Linked DNA regions of Homo sapiens: all the other regions are linked to region 2. The links are contacts of gene promoters, found by promoter capture Hi-C in blood cells and fetal thymus (Javierre and others, 2016). All regions are on one chromosome and are shown on one strand. Each heading gives the region's core, a stretch centred on a gene start or on the middle of the fragment in contact. The rest is flanking DNA. Distances are from core to core; before and after follow the strand shown.

Region 1 (4,929 bases), core at 2,406-4,905, 1.4 Mb after region 2:
TATATACTACACACACCACACACATATATACCATATACACACCTACCACACACGCATAACACACCCACACACACTAATCACACCCTCATAACCTGCCACGCCTGCACACCTCCAAATCCATACACATTTACACAAGGACACACTTACATGCCCTCCCCCATCCTTACAGCACCCACACCTTTGTACATAACATACCCACACCCCCACCATACACCACATACACACACCACACACCACACACTCCCCATAAACACACCACACATATACACACACATGCACACCCACACACTGCACACACTATAAACACCCGCACACATACCACACACACACTCCCACATCCCCATGCCTCCCACCACACACACACACACAAACCCGCATCCCCCCATACCTCCCACACCACACACACACACACACACACATCCACACTTCTACATTCAGCTATACCACCATCCTGCCCAAGTCATATCCTTTGTTCACGTTATTCATTGATTCTCTAAACTGTTCTCATGGCAAAATAACTAGGTAATTAACATTAAATCCTATTTTCTTCCCCTCCCAGGATCACTCTTCCTTCCCACTGCGAAGCAGCCATCTGGGGCTGAGGAAAGCAGCGGAGCTGCGAGCAGCCATCCTGCCAGCCGGGCTTACCAGCCAGGCTCAGTGCTGTGTCTACACGGACACCTTGGTAGCCTCTTGGCTGCACTCGGAGAACTATACGTCCCTGGGATTTGCTTCAGCAAAGATTCGGTGTTAAGACAACTCAGATGCAAGGAAGAACTACTTGGACTGCTTCCTCTTGGAGGGTTTGAAACAATTCTGTTCCGTGAAAAGTGTCATTCCAGCAATAATTTGCAAGTTAGGCAGAAAGAGATGTCATGTAAGAGTTATTAAGCAAATGGATTCTGTTTTCCTCCTGATGGGAAGAGTCTTATTAGCTGGGTGAAGCCCATCTCATTCTGGCTACACAAGCAATTTGTTTTCATGTTATAATGAGAGGGAAGAGGGTCTCATTAATCGGCCTGCATCATATGCTCAGAATGGTAGCGTACTGGAGGCCGACAATTACCATTCTGGGTGGCGTGTGCTGCAATTAGGAAAAACTTTGTGGTTTTCATTGACCCAAATCTTTTAACTAATGGTGGTAAGGGTCACTAAGAAATCCAGTTGTTATAGCTGACGTTTACATTTGGAAAAGAAATGTTTGTGTTGATTTCATTGATAGAGAACCATATGGCCTTTCCGGTCTGCCTGCCTCTGACTAAATGATTAGTGTTACAGTCATCGAGAGCAGCATCCTGACCATAATAATAAATTTTTTAGCTACCATTACCTACACGCACATGGCCTTGACATCATTTATAATTCAAAGACCTGGAATGTGGTGTCTGAGTGAGACTTCGTTAGTCAGAAAAATCCACCAGATTTATGTGAAAATCCAGAAAGAAAAGGCAACACCATGGCTCACTGCACCATTTCCACTCACGTTCTTTCTTGTGAGACCAGCTTCCTCTAGTGACAGATTTCAGGGCGTTTTCAAAGGATCCCAATGCCCCAAGGGAAAAGAAGAGGCAGTATCCATTCTGAAGATGACATAAACCATTGCTAACTGTGTCTTCATCATGTATTTCTTTATTTCAAGCTCATGACACTGTCTCACGCTTAATACGGTGTTTAACACAATGGTCCTCAAGTTTTCCTGCGTATTAGAATCACCTAGGGAGTTTTAAAGCCTTCTGATGCCTGGGCTGCACCCCAGAGCAATTAAATTGGAATATCAGAGGTAAGAGCCACACATCAGTATATTTTTAAAAACTTCCAGGTGGTTCCAATGTGTAGCCGAGGGTAGAGACCAGTACTCTCAGTGTGAAACACACTACCAGGACCGAGGCAATCCATTTAACTAGTCCCCAGGAAAATACCATCCCTTGCCTCCAGCTTGGTCACTTACTAATAGTTCCCAGAGGTAGTGGGGGTGGTGCTTGAGGGTGACAATAACACAGACCTTGGTTATGGCACACTGGGTCTTGTTCACAGAGAACATTTTAACAATAATAAAAACTCTGATGCTAATTCTCAAATTGTAAAAGTTTATCAATGTATTGTTAACTGTCATTGCTTTTAATACACACTTTTTTTTTGAGGCGGAGTTTCGCTCTTGTTGCTGGAGTGCAATGGCGCAATCTTGACTCACTGCAACCTCTGCCTCCCAGGGTTCAGGCGATTCTCCTGCCTCAACCTCCCGTGTAGCCAGCCCACCGCGCCTGGCTAATTTTTGTATTTTTGGTAGAGACGGGGTTTTGCCATGTTTGCCAGGCTGGTCTTGAACTCCTGACCTCAGGTGATCCACCTGCCTCAGCCTCCCAAAGTGCTGGGATTACGGGTGTGAGCCACGGCTCCCGGCCTTTAATACACACTTTAACAACCAGCTGACTGGGAGGGAAAAGTAAAGCGAGAGAAAGTTGAAAAATAAACTGTACATATTAATGTAAATGCATGTGAAAGTGTAAAATGCTGCCTCTTTCACAAAGGAAAATCTCACTGGAACTTAGTAATGATGCTGTTATGACCCACGTAAAACCCAAAGATAATTCAAAGTTACAAAAATGTAGAAAGAAAGATCTGGAGACTTAACGCACACCCACGGTGAATGTGGTCTATGAGTGTAAGCTCTGGATACCCCGATCCAACCAGATGCTGCAGTGGCCCGGAGAACATCATAAATATGAAGAAAGTGTATCCATGCCGGGGCTTCCATTTGTTTTTATAAGGCAATAAACATCATAAAGCCTAGCCGGGTGTGGTAGTGGGCACCTGTAATCCCAGCTACTCGGGCTGGAGGCTCCAGCTGGGGCTGGAGAATCGCTTGAACCCAGGAGGCAGAAGTTTCAGTGAGCTGAGATCGCACCACTGCACTCCAGCCTGGGCAACAAAGTGAGACTCTGTCTCAAAAAAAAAAAAAAAAAAAAAGAGGAAAAAAAAAAGTGCACGATTTCCATGCCTGCTTTAGACAGTGGCCCTCAAGTGTGGCTACACATTAGAATCCCCTAAGGAGTCTTAAGAAATCTTGATGTTTACACTGCACTATGGACCAAGGACATCAGAATCCCTGGGGTGGGACTGAGGCTGGCATTGGTCTTTTGTTACCGCTCCCCAGGGGACGGGGAATTCCAGTATTCATCAAGGTTGAGGATAACTGCATTGGAGGAAAGAAGCAGCTAACTACCTGGATCCTTAATTCCTATCTCTTCTTTTCCCAGGAGCCAACAGGAAAAAATGCACCAGGAGGGAAAGACAGGAAAGGAGGGACAAGAGAGGAAGGGGGGCTCCACACATCTGCAGCAGGAAAGGCTCGGATTGCACCACCCACCCCTGCCTGCTGCACACGAGGCTGGGAGCTACCTTGGACTTTGTGGTCGTGGTCATCCTGCAGGATTGTGATGGCAACTGTGTGGTTATTTTCCATCTCTAGGAGAGCAGCATCATGGCTGGCGGTGAGATCTTCCACCTGGAGGAGAGTCGCAGTTACTGGTTAGACAGAGAGCTGCTTGGAGAACAGAAGTGGAATTCCGTGAGTGGAAAAGGTCCGTGACCCAAAACATCAATGACAAGTCACAGCCTTGTGCCGAAGCAGGAGAGCTGGACTTTGGTGGTGATGTGGCAGCCCTCGGAATCACGGGGAGGTCACTGCCACAACCTGGCTCTTTGTAGGGGGGTCCAACTCCAGGCAGGGGATCACTGCCTGAGGTACCTCTTTAGAGTCCTGAGTGTGGCTCCTGGACCATCCCCTTCCCACTGCTTGTCCACGCGCTTGCACCGCTATGAGCGATGACGGCAAAGGAAAAGAAAAGCGTCCTCCCTACGAGGTGGTCTGTTTCCCAGTGGCAGGGGGAGCTACGGTACACAAGGTAAGTGGAGGGAACGAATACTTATTAGGCTGTCCGAGATAGGCTACTCTACTTAACCCTCAGAGCCACCTTATGAAGTATATCTTTTTATGCCCAATTGACAGATGTGGAAACTGAGGCTAAGAGAAATATGAAACGTTTTGCCCAAGGGCTAATAAATGGCAGAGCTAACAGTGAGACCCAGGTCTGTCTGACTCCAAAGGCGAGGCTCTTTCTAATGCACTGTTGTTTTGTGTTCACCTCCCCCAAGCAAGACTAGCAACGAACACCTTAGGATTCTCTCGCCAATACCAGGTGAGGCTGGCAGGTCTGTGTGTCTGTTTTTAAACATAAGGTTGCCCACCAGATTATAACTTGGACCTTCTGCTCAGGCAATGTGGTGCTCCTGGGAAGGGCTGCTGCCTCCCAGCTGCAGGAACACGTCTAGCAGTTTAATCGCAAGTAGTGCAGCCAGTCCAGTCCAGGATTCTTCATTTTCATGTTTCCTGACCCCCTCCCCTACCCCTCACCTGCCTGCCTACCAGGTTTACTGTTTTTGTTATTGTCATTGTGGCTGTTGTTTTAACTTCAAATGTATGACTTGCAGGAGTAATTGTCTAAAACGACCTCTCCCTATGATTGCAAATCTCTCCTGGATGCACTACAACGGTGTTTATCCAAATTCTCTGTCAGTGATCCACTGTAAAAATCACCATTGTACACAATATCACAGTGCACACACCCACACACAACCATACCCAAAACCAAAGTTTCACAAAAACAAAACTTCCCCTTCCATTTGGAAAAATCTGGTTTAAAAATGTTTCCTCTATTTTACTTTGTTTTACAAAACGCTAGTTAGAGGCCACTACATTTATTTCACAAGCTAATAATGCATCAAAACTTGGCATTTGAAAACCACTGAACTAGAAAATGTGCACTGGTCTTGAAGCTCCTTGGTGGCCCAGTTAAGAAGACATTGCTTCTAGCTGGTCATATTCAGCCACCTCTGGGCTCCCACATTTCTCTGGGGGAGAATTCACAG
Region 2 (4,617 bases), core at 386-2,885:
AAAGGGGCGAATTCACCTGGGGGAAAAAGAGCTTTGGAGGCAGAATCAAAGAGACCTGGTGATCAAACTGCAGTCTCAAGGAAGCTGCCTTCCCTTCTAAATTGAGCAGCTAGGACCCTCTTAACTGAACTCTCAAAGTCTGGAAGGTTTGAGGAGGACAAGGAGTGTGATTTTGCACATGTCAAGTTGGAGGCCCTGCTGTGACACCCACATGGAACTGTCTGGTAGACAGTTAGATATTCTGGTCTGAAAAAGTAGGAAGAAAGTCCAAGTCAGAGATAAAGGTTAGAGAGTTGTTGGCACCTTTATGCAGCACTTGAAGCCCTGTGCAGGATATGGTCACAAAGAGAAGGTAAGCCTAGAAGGATCAATCCTGGGGGACTCCAACAGTTCCCAGACAAGAAGGGGATGAAATGGGGAGACAGTGGGAAAACAGGGTGGTTAGAAAGGGAAGAGAAGCATCCAAAGGGGTGCTGTCGGGATGCTAGGAGGGGATCCTCCCTCCTCTGTCTCTCCTGTTTGCCTTCCCATCATATAGAAACTGAGTGTATTAGATATTTTCTGCACTAATTAAGTATTTTCATTTTCCATTCTTAATTTACAACGGAATGAATTGGAATGAAAATATGCATTTCATTCACTCTTTTGGGAGCACAATTCTAGGGAATTTGTACTTGAACAATCCTTCACTGCTCCATAGCCACTGTGGAATCACAGTTACCCAACTATACAGCAGCAATGGCCAATTATTGCCACAAGAGACTATGATGGAGCTGACTACACGGTAATCATGCCACTAGCGTCACAGCTAGAGTGGTTCTCCCTCCACAGACCCAAAAGGCTGAACTGGTGAACCTGCTGCATCTGTGGGCAGAATTAGGATGAAAAGCACTACCTCTGTGAAATACAAAATCTCTGTGGAAGAAAAATCAATTCAGGTTAGAGGCGGCAGCTGAAGGCCATGGCTCCCAGCCTGGTGCGACAGCCCAGGGAGGGCGTCTGCCTCTGCAGACACAGCTGGGACTCCATTCAGCAGCCAACCCTTCCCCCACTTTCCTTGCTGTTTCCAAGATCCTATATGGGGATCGGGACTCAGGCAGGACCTGTTCTCTTCAGAGCTTCCAGGACTTCTCTTTCTTCTTTGCCTTTGGCCCTGTTTTCCTTGGAAAATCACCAGTTCTTCCTTTTTTCCTGTCCCCTCTTAGCCAGGCACTTCCTCGAGTGTTTAAAAACCCTGCGCGTTTTAGGGAGCGGGGATTTGGCAAAGGTTATGCGAAGGACTGAAAAGGGGCAGCGTCATGAAGGCCCTGTCATTCTCCCTGACTCCCCGTCTTTTCCTCAGTTGAGCATACTCCTAAGAGCGATGCCACACCCTTAAATACTAAGGCCCCTTTTTCTCAACAGGACCCTTTCCCCGGGAAAGACCCCAGCCCCGCCCCGCAGACCGGCAGAGTCTGCTGTCTTACTTGGCTGGAGGTTGTGGTGGCAGAGAGAGGGATCCGGAGCCCTGGGCCCAGGCTGTTCCATTCTGCCCCAGGAGGCGGCCGCGGGGCCCTGGCTCCAGCTATCTCAGCGCTTGCGGGAGCCGCGGGCTGCTTTGTGACGCGTCGCCATGGAGACAAGGATCGGGTTCCAGGGAGTTCTGCCCCTGCCAAGGGGTGCTGGCCACGCAGGAGGCTTAACCTGGCCGGCGCGGGAATGGGGTGCAGAGAGCAAAGAAATGTGGCTTTGATCTTATGGATGCCTTACTTTTACATTATTTGTACAGTTCTTGCAGTGAGCTTTCCGGACCACTGTCTTGTATGTTTCCTAAGAAAAGCAAAAAGGGAAGAGATTGAAGAGAAAGTAGATTTTCAACTACAAACTTTCATCCATTTGCTTTCAGCTTAAGCAAATGTGCGCAAAGTTGTCATGGATTTTTGCAGTCAATAAAAACCAAGCAAGAAGACTGAATCCCAAGTCATCTGGTATAAATGGAAGCAGTTTCTGTGATAGTTCCACGCGGTCAGAAGGGTCATCCTGGCTTAGGAGAGGGGCAGAAGAGGAAATGCACGCGTGGAAACAGGAGTGGGCAGGGAGGATGTGACACTGTCCTCCTCACCAGGCCACGTTCCTGGCACCAACCATAGTGTTTGTGAGGGTCAATTTAATTGTTCTTGTGCTCTCATAGAGGAAGCTGTGTCTTTCATCCCCTTGTAAGAGTTTTCACTGATGAAGGGGGTCTTTTATCTTCATATCTTGGGAACTACTGAAACTGTTTCAAAGAGTCAAAGACACCAATAACTAACAGAAATTCTTGTTTTCAGGGGCAGATAAGAAAAGAAACAATTTGCTGAAACTCCCTCTGCTTATAACAAAACTGACTGAAATCAGCCGGAATCAATATGGCCAAATGCAGTTTGCGCACAGCAAGCTTGCTGATGTCACAGCCTGAATTTCTACTGCATGTTTCATACCAACTCCCTCCAAATTTGCACATGGGACCCACCAGGAAGCATGAAGAGAGAGCCATGCATGCCTGAAGACTTCCCAGATGTTCCCTTTGCTTCCACCAATCACCTGCTAACCCCAGGATCCAACCCTAAACCTTTTGTAATAAAATTACTGCCCTAAAGCCAGTACAAGACAGATTTGAACTGGACTTTTGTTTCCTCAGAAGTTAACTTGCAATGTGAAGCTTTCCTTTTCTCAAAAACTTGGTGTCATAGTGTTGGCTTCTAGTGCAGTGAGCCCCTTTTGCTGGATAACCTTACCTGGTAATTTGACATACTAGGTGGTTAGTAACTACTGACTGTCTCCAGGTTACAACACAGTTATTACCCACTTGGGTGAAAAGAGAAGACAGGAAATACATTTTGGAGTTGGCTGGCAACCTGTTTACAAAGCAATTTACAACAGTTCCTTATTCTTAAGGGGCTATTCTAATACAAGACCTCAGAGAAACAGTGCAGTGTGACAAAGGAGGAATTTATCAAAGGAGACAGAAAAAGCATCAAGGTAAGGATCCCAAATATATGTGCAAGGAATGTCTTTAAAATGAAGAGCTAAACTAGAATTTCCTGAAGGTAGAGTTCTATCCATATAATGGAATGAATATAACACATTATAAACTCTCATGTTTTGAAGCAATGGAGGGTGGAACACATTAGAAGGCATAGATGTTATTAAAAGGAATGAGTCTAAATTAGGATTTAGTAGTGGCATCTAAATTTAAAAAGTAGCACCCAATAACAGATTACTGTCTGGAAATGGTAGAGCTAATTAGCATAGCATAATTTAAGAGAAATATATGTTTAAAATAGAGCAGCAAGTATATAGAATTTTGAAAGTGAATTCTTATTAATATCTTACAATTTGTCTCATTTTAGGCAAGCTGTGAAATGGTGCGGTAGGAACCAAATAGAGAGCCAAAGGATCTTTCTGTCACTGCAGGCCCTTAGGGGTAAGCAAATCCTTCCCTGATCCCTGGTCTCCTTATCTGTAAATGAGAATACCAGCACCCACCTCACTGTGCTGTAAACATGATGAGTTCTAACAATAATTTATAAATTGTAAAATCACACAAATCTAAGATATTGCTCTTGTTGCTATTCTGATCTTCATTCCTTTTATAGTCTTTCTACTTCAAAGTGTATTTTTGCGTGGGTCCATTTTATGGCTAGCGGTATAGCACTATTCCTGCCTTTGAATTCTGGTTGCCTGAGGCAACCCTTCTAAATGATTAAGTAGAGTATTTCCCCCCTGCTTTCTTCTCTCCCTCAACAAATACTGACTGTGCACTGAATATGAGCTGTATGATGGCATCGGGGCAACACCCTGATTATTATAGTGAACAACTTCCTAGAAAAGGAGGTGCCTGAGCTGGGTCCTCAAGGATGCTTGGAGTCAACCAGGTGAATAGGGGGAGGTGACAGGTGACACAAAGTAACGCAAGGGCCCAGAGGCATGGAACACTGTGTGTAGTCCCAAGACCTTTAGTAGTTTAATATTGCCATATTGTAAAGTGTGTCAGGGGAAACTGAGAGCCGGCTGGGGTGGAAGGCCCTGCAGGCCATCCTGAGAAGCTTGGACTTCACCTGAGCATGCTTGGGTTAAACAATGCAGTGCAGGGGCCAGGTTGGAAGTTTAAGTAAATCCTGGCCTCTCATTCCAGAAGGAGGAGAGGCAAAATTCCACAACATTCTGCCAGAGTAAGTTAATCATTCAGAAATTAAAGCATCTAGGTTACTAATTTAGGTTACTGATATCTCTTTAGCAGAGTTTCAAATTGATCCAAAACAATTGAGAATAGTTGTATTGAATGGGTTAAATGTTAATTGGTTGTTTTCAGTTGAAGTGATTACAGCCAAGCGAGGTGGCTCATGCTTGTAATCCCAATACTTTGGGAGTCCAAGGCAAGAGGATCCTTTGAGCCTAGAAGTTTGAGACAAGCCTGGACAACATAGGGAGACCCCGTTTCTACAAAAAATGAAAAAATTAGGCAAGGTGATGCATATGTGTAGTCCCAGCTACTTGGGAAGCTGAGGTGGGAGGATCAATTAAGCCCATGAGTTTGAGGCTGCAGTGAGCTGTAGTGGTGCCACTGCACTCCAGCCTGGGTGACAAGAGAAAAACCCC
Region 3 (4,588 bases), core at 1,586-4,085, 1.1 Mb after region 2:
TGATTCTATTCATATGAAGTACTCAGAGTAGTAAAAAAACATAGAAACAGAAAGTAGAATGGTGTTTGGGAGAGACAGAAAGGGGAGTTGGTGCTTAATGAGTTCAGGGAGCAAGATGAAAAGAGTTCTGTGAATGGATGGTGGTGGTGGTTGCACAGTGTGAACGTACTTAATGCCACTGAACTGAAAATGTAAAAAAGACTAAGATGTTAAATTTTATGTTATGTGTATTTTGCTACATTTTAACAAATAAAAAATTACTCATTTAAAGTGTACAATCCAGTGGTTTCCTGTGTATTTACAGAGTTCTACAACCATCGCCAAAATCTAATTTTAGGTTGTCATCATTCCACCTTCCCTGTTCCCCCAAAATCCCTCCTACCCATAAGTAGTCACTTAGGGAAGATATTTTTAACAGGCCATCGGTGTCATGCCCTATTTTTCCAGGACTTGACACTCATAGACTCTTAGAAGGGACCTTAGAGATTTAGTTCAAGCTTCTCAGATGAAGAAATTGAAACTCAGAGAGGCAAAAGGTCACATAACTAATTCGTGGCAGAGCCAGGTCTTTTGACTTCCTATGAAGTTATTTTTCCCATTACAAAAATGCTGTGTCATTCACTTTCTTCCAACTGATGCTGACAATAGATTCCTGGTGTCAAGAAGATGCTACCTTTTCCTGCTTGGGACAGCTGAACTCCTTTCTACAGCCTCCCACCTCACCCGCCTGAGCTGGGAAGCAAAGAGAAAAGAAAGAGTGGAAAAATCTGCAACTGTGTCCAATAATGTTACCTCATGCCTTAACAATGTTAGGGATGAGTTATAATGAGTTTTATTGAGAATAATGTCTCAGCCCCTCTTAGAAGAGTAATTGGAAACACAGCGACTTTTGAAAGACATTGCCTTTTGTAAAGGTGGCAGTGGTAACCTGCAGCAAACAGCAACTCTTGCCTTTCTACTTACAGTGGCACTTAGGCCCGGCAGTGCCATGGCCAGGCAGTGCCATGGCCAGGGAGGTCATTGGATAAAAGTTGGAGTCAAGGGTATGGTGGAGGGACTAACTCTGTGAGTTAGAGCTTTCAAAATGTGCTCCAATATTCCTTCTGAGCTCATTGGTCAATTGAAGTATTTTCACCTGCCCTTATTTCCTGGGGGGCTGGTGTAGGGGTAGGGGGACTCTGTGGTTGCTAAACATTGCAAATGAGCAACCAAGTAACAAAGGCCATGGAAAATCACGTAACTATGGACTTGGAAATATCTAGACAAAGTCCTGAAGCCTAATCACAGTGAGATTTGGGCCTCTCTTCTCTTCTGGCCTTTGGTTTTTCGGAGAATTTGATCTATCTTCCTCAGGGTGATATAGGCCCTTAGGAGTGTTTGGAATTTCTCCACCCAGGCTACTCAAGAGGCAGGTACTCTAAATGTCCTGTGGGTTTCCAACTGATGAGAAACCCAACTGGAGAGATTGCTGTGGGGAATCACGTAGGCTTCTAGACAATGAGCTCCCTGAGGACAGTGACTGGATTCTGCCTCTTTTCAACAGCCCTATAGACAAGGATGTAATAACCCCCATTGCCAACCCAAGACCTTGGCATTTCTGCCACATGATGCTGCTGTTCGCTACAGTGACTCATTTTTAAACTCCTAGTGCCTAGCAGAGTGCCTGGCACATTTGTTTGCTGAATGAGAGAATGAGTAGTGACATTTCATATCAAATGATGCATTATTATTTACAAAGTGATTTATTTCCCATGCATGAACTCATCCTCATAACTACCCCTACTTTACCCCGGAAGGTAGGCAAGACCATTTTACAGATGAGGTCACACAGCTGTAGGTTGGAGAGGTGGCTTTCAGACTCTAAATTCATTGGCATTTATATATAGGCATCATATTGAGACTGCCCTTTCTAAAGTACTCTGTCAAAGGACTAAGAGATATGAATAGGGATTCAGATGTTGACCTCAGATTTAGGAACAAAATGCAGAAATCACAAATGTCCATCTGAATGGTGTCTCAACAATGGCATTATTTTCTCCTATTTGCTAATCACTGCAAGGCATATAGGTTTTCAATTACATTATGAGTTACATAGAATAGAATTTAGGGTCCAGATGGGTAAACTGGTGAATCCCCATGAAGTTTGTAGTAGCTATTTCCTGATACAGATTTGATATAATAACACTGTTGTATGTAATACAGTTTTGGTAATTTCAGTTAAGTAGATTGTAGCTTTATTGCCCTGGGTCTTCAAGGAAACACATGTTCAAATATTCTCACTGCTTAATGAGATCCTTGTTCCTGTTGAACTTATGTGACCTTATTGGAAATCAATGATTGCTTTTGTTCTTCAAAATGTAATGTTGAGGAGACCTAGATGAAATCACTCTACAAAATGCATTGAGATTGCAGGATGTGGAGAATGTGCTGTAATTAAAATGAATGATTCTGCTTGGAGGTACAGCATATTTTAGCTCTGTGTGCATATCGTGCATAAGGGAATTTCTCTATGCAGAATTATTTTCTCCCAACAATTCTCATGATCACAGCACTCCTGGTAGCAGGTATCACTTAACTCCTGGGCAGCAGCTTGTCCAAAGCAAGGGAAAGGGAGCTTTCCTTTCCTCGCAACTGTTGCTATGGGGGGCGTGGCTTCGGAGCTGGGTGAGGAGGCGTTCGGCGGCTCCCTCCCCCCCCCACCCTCGTAGACTACACTTCCCGTGATGCTCGAGGGAATGGTCTCCGTGGTGACGCACTTGGTGTCCGCGGAGGGAGGACGAGGACGGGGGCGGCGGCTGCTGCGAGGGGGGGCCCGTGCTCTCCCCGTTTCCCTTAGTCGCACTCAGGCAGCCGCCGCCGCCGCCGCTGCCGCCATGTTGGTTTGAGAGGCGATGACAGGAGGCGGCCGCGGCGTGTGGGACTGAAAAGTGAAGGAGGAGGAGGAGAAACAAAGCTCTGAGAGGAAACCATTCCCGGGCTGAGGAGAAGGAGGACCCGGCCTCTTCCGGGGACCAGCCGAAGTCGGCGTCGCCCGGAGCTCGCGAGGCCGGGGAGGGGAGGGGAAGGGAAGGCGGAGACCGGGGAGGCGGCGGCGGGGAAGGCGGAGGCAGAAGAGGAGTGGCGAGGAGCCGGAGACGATGCGCCCCGACCCCAGCTGCTGTCCGGAGGCGCCCGCGGCCTGAGCCCAGAGGGGCTGTGGAGTGTCCCGGCCGGCCCCGAGCACCCCCGCGCTGTCGGTCCCCCGCTCCGGTCTTTCGCTTTGGCTTCCAACTAGTTAAATGCCCTTGAGCGCGGGTTTCCGCGGCCCGGCTCTTCGCCCCCGCGGCGCGAGTTGAGCCGTTTCCCCGCGCTGTCCGCGCGGGCGCTCCGACAGCGGCTCTGCAGGGTCCGCGGCCAGCGTCCGGCCACCGCTCGGCCGCCACTCAAGGCTCACGCGTCGATGTGTAGCTACATAGTTATCTGTGTACATCCACGCTGGGGCATTTTTCTCCTGCTTAATGAGGACTTGACTCGGGAGCAAGTGTGAATCATTGCCGGGGCTGGGAAAGGAGGAAGGCGCATTTAACCCCCTCCCACCCCTCTCCATGTCCGTGTGTCACTCGGCTCGGTCCACCTGGCGCGGCCGGTCCTGGGGCTGCTGCTGCTGTTGACGACGACGACGACGACGGGGGCTGCCTCTGCTGTCCCGGGAGTTTCCTCCTGCTCCGGCCACACAGCTCCTGGGGATTGTTCCTCTTCGAACCAGAACCTCGGCCTGACCGGCACTTTGGCTCCAAAATAACTTTATTTTTGGGGGAGAAAGCACATCACGAACCAGTCAAAATCGTGGTTTATTTCTGTAACGTGAAGACTTCTGCTCTTTTTTCTTTGTTTGTTTTTTTCGTAAACATCTGGGTGTATATCAAACGGCAAGATGTCCAGTAATGTCCCGGCGGATATGGTAAGTGACGGATAAGTTATGACACTGATTTAATTGTGGTTTCCAATCTTATTTAATCGGAAAGACGGCAGGCGTGGGGCGAAGATTTGCTGGGGACTGTCGAAAAGCCACTGTGCTGAGCGATTTGGAGAAGTTGGAGCTTCTGGTTTCCCCCTTTTAGGAAGTACTGCTTTTAATATGGGTTCTCTCATTTGGTCGTGTTTTCTAAAGCATTGAAGATAGTGGAGAAGTAGGGAAATGTATCATGGTAGCTTGAGGGGACAAAACATCTCCCTCTTCGCTAGAAGCCTCCGAACACTAGTATTTTAACGTTTCTGAAAACGTCAGGGACAGTGGGCAGAGCTGAGGACGGGTGTCCCTACGAGAGAATAGGTAGGGAAACGGGAATCTTGCTTTATGACACAGACGAGATCGTCATTGCAGTAGGGACGAACTTGATATTTTTCAAGAACAGGGATGCACATCTCTTCAAGAAAAAGTATGTTAGAATTTGCTGTGAGGTTTTTGAAATGTCTGAATACGGATGGCAACAGAAATATAAAGATATTTTGGGATTTTCAGAAACGTAGGCTGACCCTGTATTGGTACTTACAATGAATATTCCAGGGCTTTTTAATGCCAGATATTTATTAATAGTAGATTCCATAT
Region 4 (4,650 bases), core at 1,302-3,801, 1.3 Mb after region 2:
TACTCCCATCAGGGCCTGGAGCACTTGCTCTCAGAATTTACAAACATTAACTCATGTTGGCGCTCTGTGTTGCCCAAGGAGAGCATCTCTACAATTTATGAAATTCTATTTTACTGCCAGAAGTCAGCAAAGAGAAAAAGAAAGAAAGAGAGGCAGAAAGAGAAAATTCCACAGTCATATTTCAAACACCAAGGGATAGATTTTTTTCTTAAGAATATAAGATTTACAAGCTCCAAACAGGAGTGAAATAGTTTGCAGAAGCTCTCACAGCAAATGAACTGGTAGAGTTCAGATTCAAATCCTGATCTGGTGCCAAGGGCAAAGCAGGTGGTCTTTAATCCTACCAGGCTTCTCTCTGTGAGAAGGGGACATGCTTACTGTGGCCTCAGCAGACAGAGTAGGCTGCGTGGGATCTGGGAGATCTTCTGTGAATGGAAGGCATCATTTCACCACTGTGCAATTGAACTAAGATACATTGTTTTATTTATTTTTTATTGATTTTTATTATTATTTTTTTGAGACGGAGTCTCGCTCTGTCACCAGGCTGGGGCGCAGTGGTGCGATCTTGGCTCACTGCAACCGCCGCCTCCTGGGTTCAAGTGATTCTCCTGCCTCAGCCTCCCGAGTAGTTGGGACTACAGGCGTGCGCTACCACGCCCAGATCATTTTTGTATTTTCAGTAGAGACGGGGTTTCACCATGTTGGCCAGGATGGTGTCAATCTGCTGACCTCATGATCTGCCTGCCTTGCCCTCCCAAAGTGCTGGATTACAGGCGTGAGCCACCGTGACAGGCCAGATTTGTTGCTTTAAAACAAAGCATATATGGTGGCTTACTATGATGTCAAGCACTGTTCAAAGCACATTACAAAGCTGGGCAGGATGGTGCTCGCCTATATTTCCAGCTACTGGGGAAGCTAAAGTGAGGCGATCGCTTGAGCCTAGGAGTTCAAGGCTGCAGTGAGCTATGATGTTGCCACTGCACTCCAACTTGGTGACAGAGTGAGACCCACTCTCTAAAACAAAGACAAAAACACATTTTACAACTGCTAAGCCATCTGCATGTGTTCATTAAAACTTTTTCTGGGGACTTTTTCTGGCTCATCCCTGTAGTCCCGATGCTAGGGGAGGTTGAGGCAAAATGATCGCTAGACAGCTGGTATTTGAGGCCAGCCTATGCAACATATCAAAAACCCGTGTCTATATGTAGAAAAAATATTAACTAGGCGTGATGACACAAGCCTGTAGTTCCATCTGCTTGGGAGGCTGAGGCAGGAGGATGGCTTGAGCCTGGGAATTTGAAGTTCCAGTGAGCTATGATTGTACCGCTGCATTCCAGCCTGGGTGACAGAGTGAGACCCCTGTCTCTAAAAAACAAACAAATGACAACAGCAACAACAACAGAACACTTTTTCTGAAGCTAGCACCATGCAGTTATGTACTTTATAAATTGCTAGTCTAATTCCAAGGGAATAGTTCAGCAGCTGATATTTGAGAAGGACCTGTAGAAAGGATTCAAAGACCACGGACACCGTCCACTGTTTTTCTGTTTTCCTATAAGATAGAAGAAGGATGGCATTATTAATTTATGCCCTGTTTACCTATCCCAAGTCCCAGATCACTGGATCTTTAAAGATTATGATTCTCGCTTGGCTTTTGGTACAAAAGGAGACAAGGAGGGAGCTTAAAAGGTGAGCACGGTGTGATTCAGGACTGAAGCTTCTGCCACTTCCTGGGGGGTAACTGCAAAAGTGAGCCGTTCTGACTAGCCGTTTGTGCATTTGCCACTGCCAAGGGGGCACAGGTAGATTCAAGCTTTGGGGCTCTTCTGACAACTGGCAAGGATAAGGTATTAGCAAGGGCAAAGGAATAGTAATAAAATAATCCAATAACAAAGACATGAAGATTTATAATAATTTTTAGGCCGGTGCAGTGTTTCAGGACTGTAATCCTAGGGCGCTTTGGGAGGCCCAGGCGGGAGGATCGCTTGAGGCCAGGATTTCGAGGTTAAGGTGAACTGCGCTCCAGCCTGGGCAATAGAGTAACACCCTGTCTCTAAAATGAAAAGAAAACAGTTTAAACCTTTTAAGTGCATACCAAATCTTTTATTTTGGAGAAGGAAAACTGGTCTCGAGTTCCGTGTGAGCTCCCTGGGGCCCGCCGGGAGGGGGTTGGCACGGCCGGACCTGCAGCACTAGTTCTGGCCAGGGCGCTGTGGGATCTGCAGGGGACCACAGGATGCTGTGGCGCGGTGCGCTCAGATTGGCGGAGAAACGGCCACACGCCTACGGAGCTACTGAGAAGGCGAGCGGAGGCGCAGCCCGCCCGCCCGCCGCGGGAACCCCAGGTTGGGGCGCTGGGCGCGCGAAGACTCAGCCGCCCCGCCCACCAAGGGCGCGTCGGTCCCCGGCCGCAGCCTCTGGGCTGGCAGCCGCCGCCGCGCCGCGCTCCCATTGGTGCCCGGCGGTGACGCGGCCGAGCGGGCCGGGGCTGCCTGGTCCGGGGGCGGGCGTGGGGCGCGGGGCGCGGAGCGCGAGGGGCGGGGGCCGGGCGCACTGCTGATGAAACCTGGCGCCGGAACCCGCCAGCCCTCGGCGCCCATTCAGTCCGCGCAGGCAGGTGTGAGCAGCGGGTCAACTACCTGGCAGGCGCGCACGCGGCCGCGGGCTCCCGCTAACCGCAGCCTCCACTCCTCTCCCCGCGCGCCGCGCCCCCGCCCCGCCCCGCCCCGCCCGGTCTCGCCGGCCGAGCGTCCGTTGGTCCTTGAGCGCGTCCGACAGTCTGTCTGTTCGCGATCCTGCCGGAGCCCCGCCGCCGCCGGCTTGGTGAGTGCCCGGCCCCGCCAACGCAGGGGGCAGCTCCTTGGGCCCGGGTCATCACGGAGGGGGCCCTGGCGCCGCGTGGGGCCGCGGCAGGGCGGCGCGGGAGTGGCGAGGGCCCCCGCGCCGGGAACGCTGCCATCCTCTGGGAAGGGCCAGGACCAGGGCCGGGCGGGCCCCGGAGTGGGCGAGCGGGGCTGGTGCCCATGCGACTGTCGCCTCCACGGAGTCCATTTTGGCTCCCTGAAACCGCGGCGTGGTGCATGATGCAACACCGAGTGAGTAAGCGTGGGCGATCTGGCGATGCCCGCTCCGCGCGCCTGTCCGGGGACCCGCGCGCCGCTACGCACGGGGTGGTCGGGGTGCGTAGGCGGGCGGCGGGCACGGGGGCCAGACTGGGAGGCACACGGAGCCCGCCGGCGGCGAGGAGACCTTCCCTTACATGGCGCGGTGCAGAGCACCCCGCCCCGCCACGAGGTCCGGGGATGTGTCATCAGCCGTGGGTGGGGACTCTGCCCGGCCGCCCGGAGGGTGGTCCCGCGGCAGGTGGCCGGCCCAGGGACTCTGCTGCCATCCCCGCCCGGTGGCCGCCCTGACCTAGGGCGCCTGGCTCTCCGCTTGTCCCTAGAACCCGGGACGCGCCGCCTGCACCTCTCGTCTGGGTCCCCAAGATTGCTTTGAGGAAGTCTCCCCTAGGTGGGCTTCCTTGTGACCCAGTGTGGCCTGGAAAGGCCGGGTTCCTCAAGCCCTCCACATGGTTTGGAATGAGAGGAAGTTCTTCCGCCTTTAGCAAGACACCGTATTCTCAGGGTGTTCCTTTCTGCGTAGTAGAAAACTTCCCAGGCATGGGCAGGTCAGAGTCATTCTAAAACCTGCGCGTACACAGAGCGGCAGCTGCACTGTAGTACTACAACAGCCTGCTGGTTCAGCTCCTGACCCTTTCCAGGGGATGGGGGAACCAGACAGCAGTTGTGTTTGACTTGTGTGACTAGGATAGTCAGACATGTGCCTTCAGGAAAAAAATAAATAAATAACCTACATTTCCCAATACTCACGTCATCACCGCCATGCCCTCATGTGTTGGGTTTTAGTCCAGACATAGTTACCAGATGGTTGAGATTTCAATCCCAGGTGTATCTCCCTAAAGAATGTGCCTTTTATCTTACTTACATTCGACTAGTAGAATTGTGTATGTCGGCCTCTGGCCGAATGCCCTAATTGTATTTAATTCGAATTATAATTTATCTGGGATTTTTCCTAACATTTCTTGCCCTTTATGTTTGGTTCAGATAATAGGAAACCATGATACATTTATTCCTCTGGTATTTTTAGTTGATCTCAGTGGAAATTACCATGATTTTTATATGAACACACCCTCCTGTTATTAAAACAAAAGGTCTTATTTAAGTCACACGAACAGAATAGAAACTTAGGGGAAAGGTCAACAATAGATTAAAATGGTTTTAAAAATAGGTTTAGCATATTACGATCATGTTTAATTATTATAAAGGTAAAATTCAAAGGATGTCAAAGGAGTTTTGAGTAAAGAGGAAAGGGCTTAGTAAGTAGATCAGAAATGTACTCCCTTGTCTGGGTCTGGATCCTAGAGCCACGTGCTCCTGTACATATGATTACTTGCTTTAGGTGAAAAAAAAAAAGAAAGGCTTGAAAGACAAGACTGTTGACTTCAGGGAGTTACAATTTTCTATTTGGTAGAAGAACTCATTCTTTGATGGAATTAAATACGTGTTGATTGATTATTCTGGTCTGTAGTTTATTTTAACCAAAGTCCATACAAATAGATAATTATGTTGGAGGGCTCAGAATTATGTC

What was found. Contacts are between HindIII fragments. The CHiCAGO score rates a contact against its expected background, and 5 or more counts as called.
Region 1: the fragment with the promoter of MTUS2-AS1 here is called in contact with the fragment with the promoter of TEX26-AS1 in region 2 in 8 of 17 cell types (naive CD8 T cells, fetal thymus, total CD8 T cells and 5 more); the score reaches 12.7 in naive CD8 T cells.
Region 3: the fragment with the promoter of UBL3 here is called in contact with the fragment with the promoter of TEX26-AS1 in region 2 in 2 of 17 cell types (endothelial precursors and M0 macrophages); the score reaches 7.0 in endothelial precursors.
Region 4: a contact is called between the fragment with the promoter of SLC7A1 here and the fragment with the promoter of TEX26-AS1 in region 2, in 4 of 17 cell types (neutrophils, total B cells, total CD4 T cells and 1 more). The highest score is 12.9, in neutrophils.

What each region holds. Positions count from the first base shown.
Region 1 is chr13:29,486,476-29,491,404 of GRCh38, reverse strand. MTUS2-AS1 (MTUS2 antisense RNA 1) reads left to right here and starts at 3,655. Exons shown (of 3, transcript NR_046378.1): 1 at 3,655-3,905. It overlaps MTUS2 (microtubule associated scaffold protein 2), which reads right to left. Exons shown (of 16, transcript NM_001033602.4): 11 at 3,400-3,505. The HindIII fragment of the contact is 24,751 bases long and covers 1-4,929 here.
Region 2 is chr13:30,929,626-30,934,242 of GRCh38, reverse strand. It overlaps TEX26-AS1 (TEX26 antisense RNA 1), which reads left to right and starts at 1,635. Exons shown (of 4, transcript NR_038287.1): 1 at 1,635-2,997; 2 at 3,369-3,442. It overlaps TEX26 (testis expressed 26), which reads right to left and starts at 1,587. Exons shown (of 7, transcript NM_152325.3): 1 at 1,467-1,587. The coding sequence starts at 1,527. The HindIII fragment of the contact is 4,425 bases long and covers 1-2,415 here.
Region 3 is chr13:29,848,864-29,853,451 of GRCh38, reverse strand. It overlaps UBL3 (ubiquitin like 3), which reads left to right and starts at 2,835. Exons shown (of 5, transcript NM_007106.4): 1 at 2,835-3,940. The coding sequence starts at 3,914. RefSeq lists silencers at 2,680-2,789, 3,060-3,359 and enhancers at 2,920-2,989, 3,660-3,729, 4,200-4,269. The HindIII fragment of the contact is 5,102 bases long and covers 500-4,588 here.
Region 4 is chr13:29,593,589-29,598,238 of GRCh38, reverse strand. SLC7A1 (solute carrier family 7 member 1) reads left to right here and starts at 2,551. Exons shown (of 13, transcript NM_003045.5): 1 at 2,551-2,823. RefSeq lists silencers at 2,185-3,424, 3,593-3,887 and an enhancer at 3,535-3,664. The HindIII fragment of the contact is 14,376 bases long and covers 1,816-4,650 here.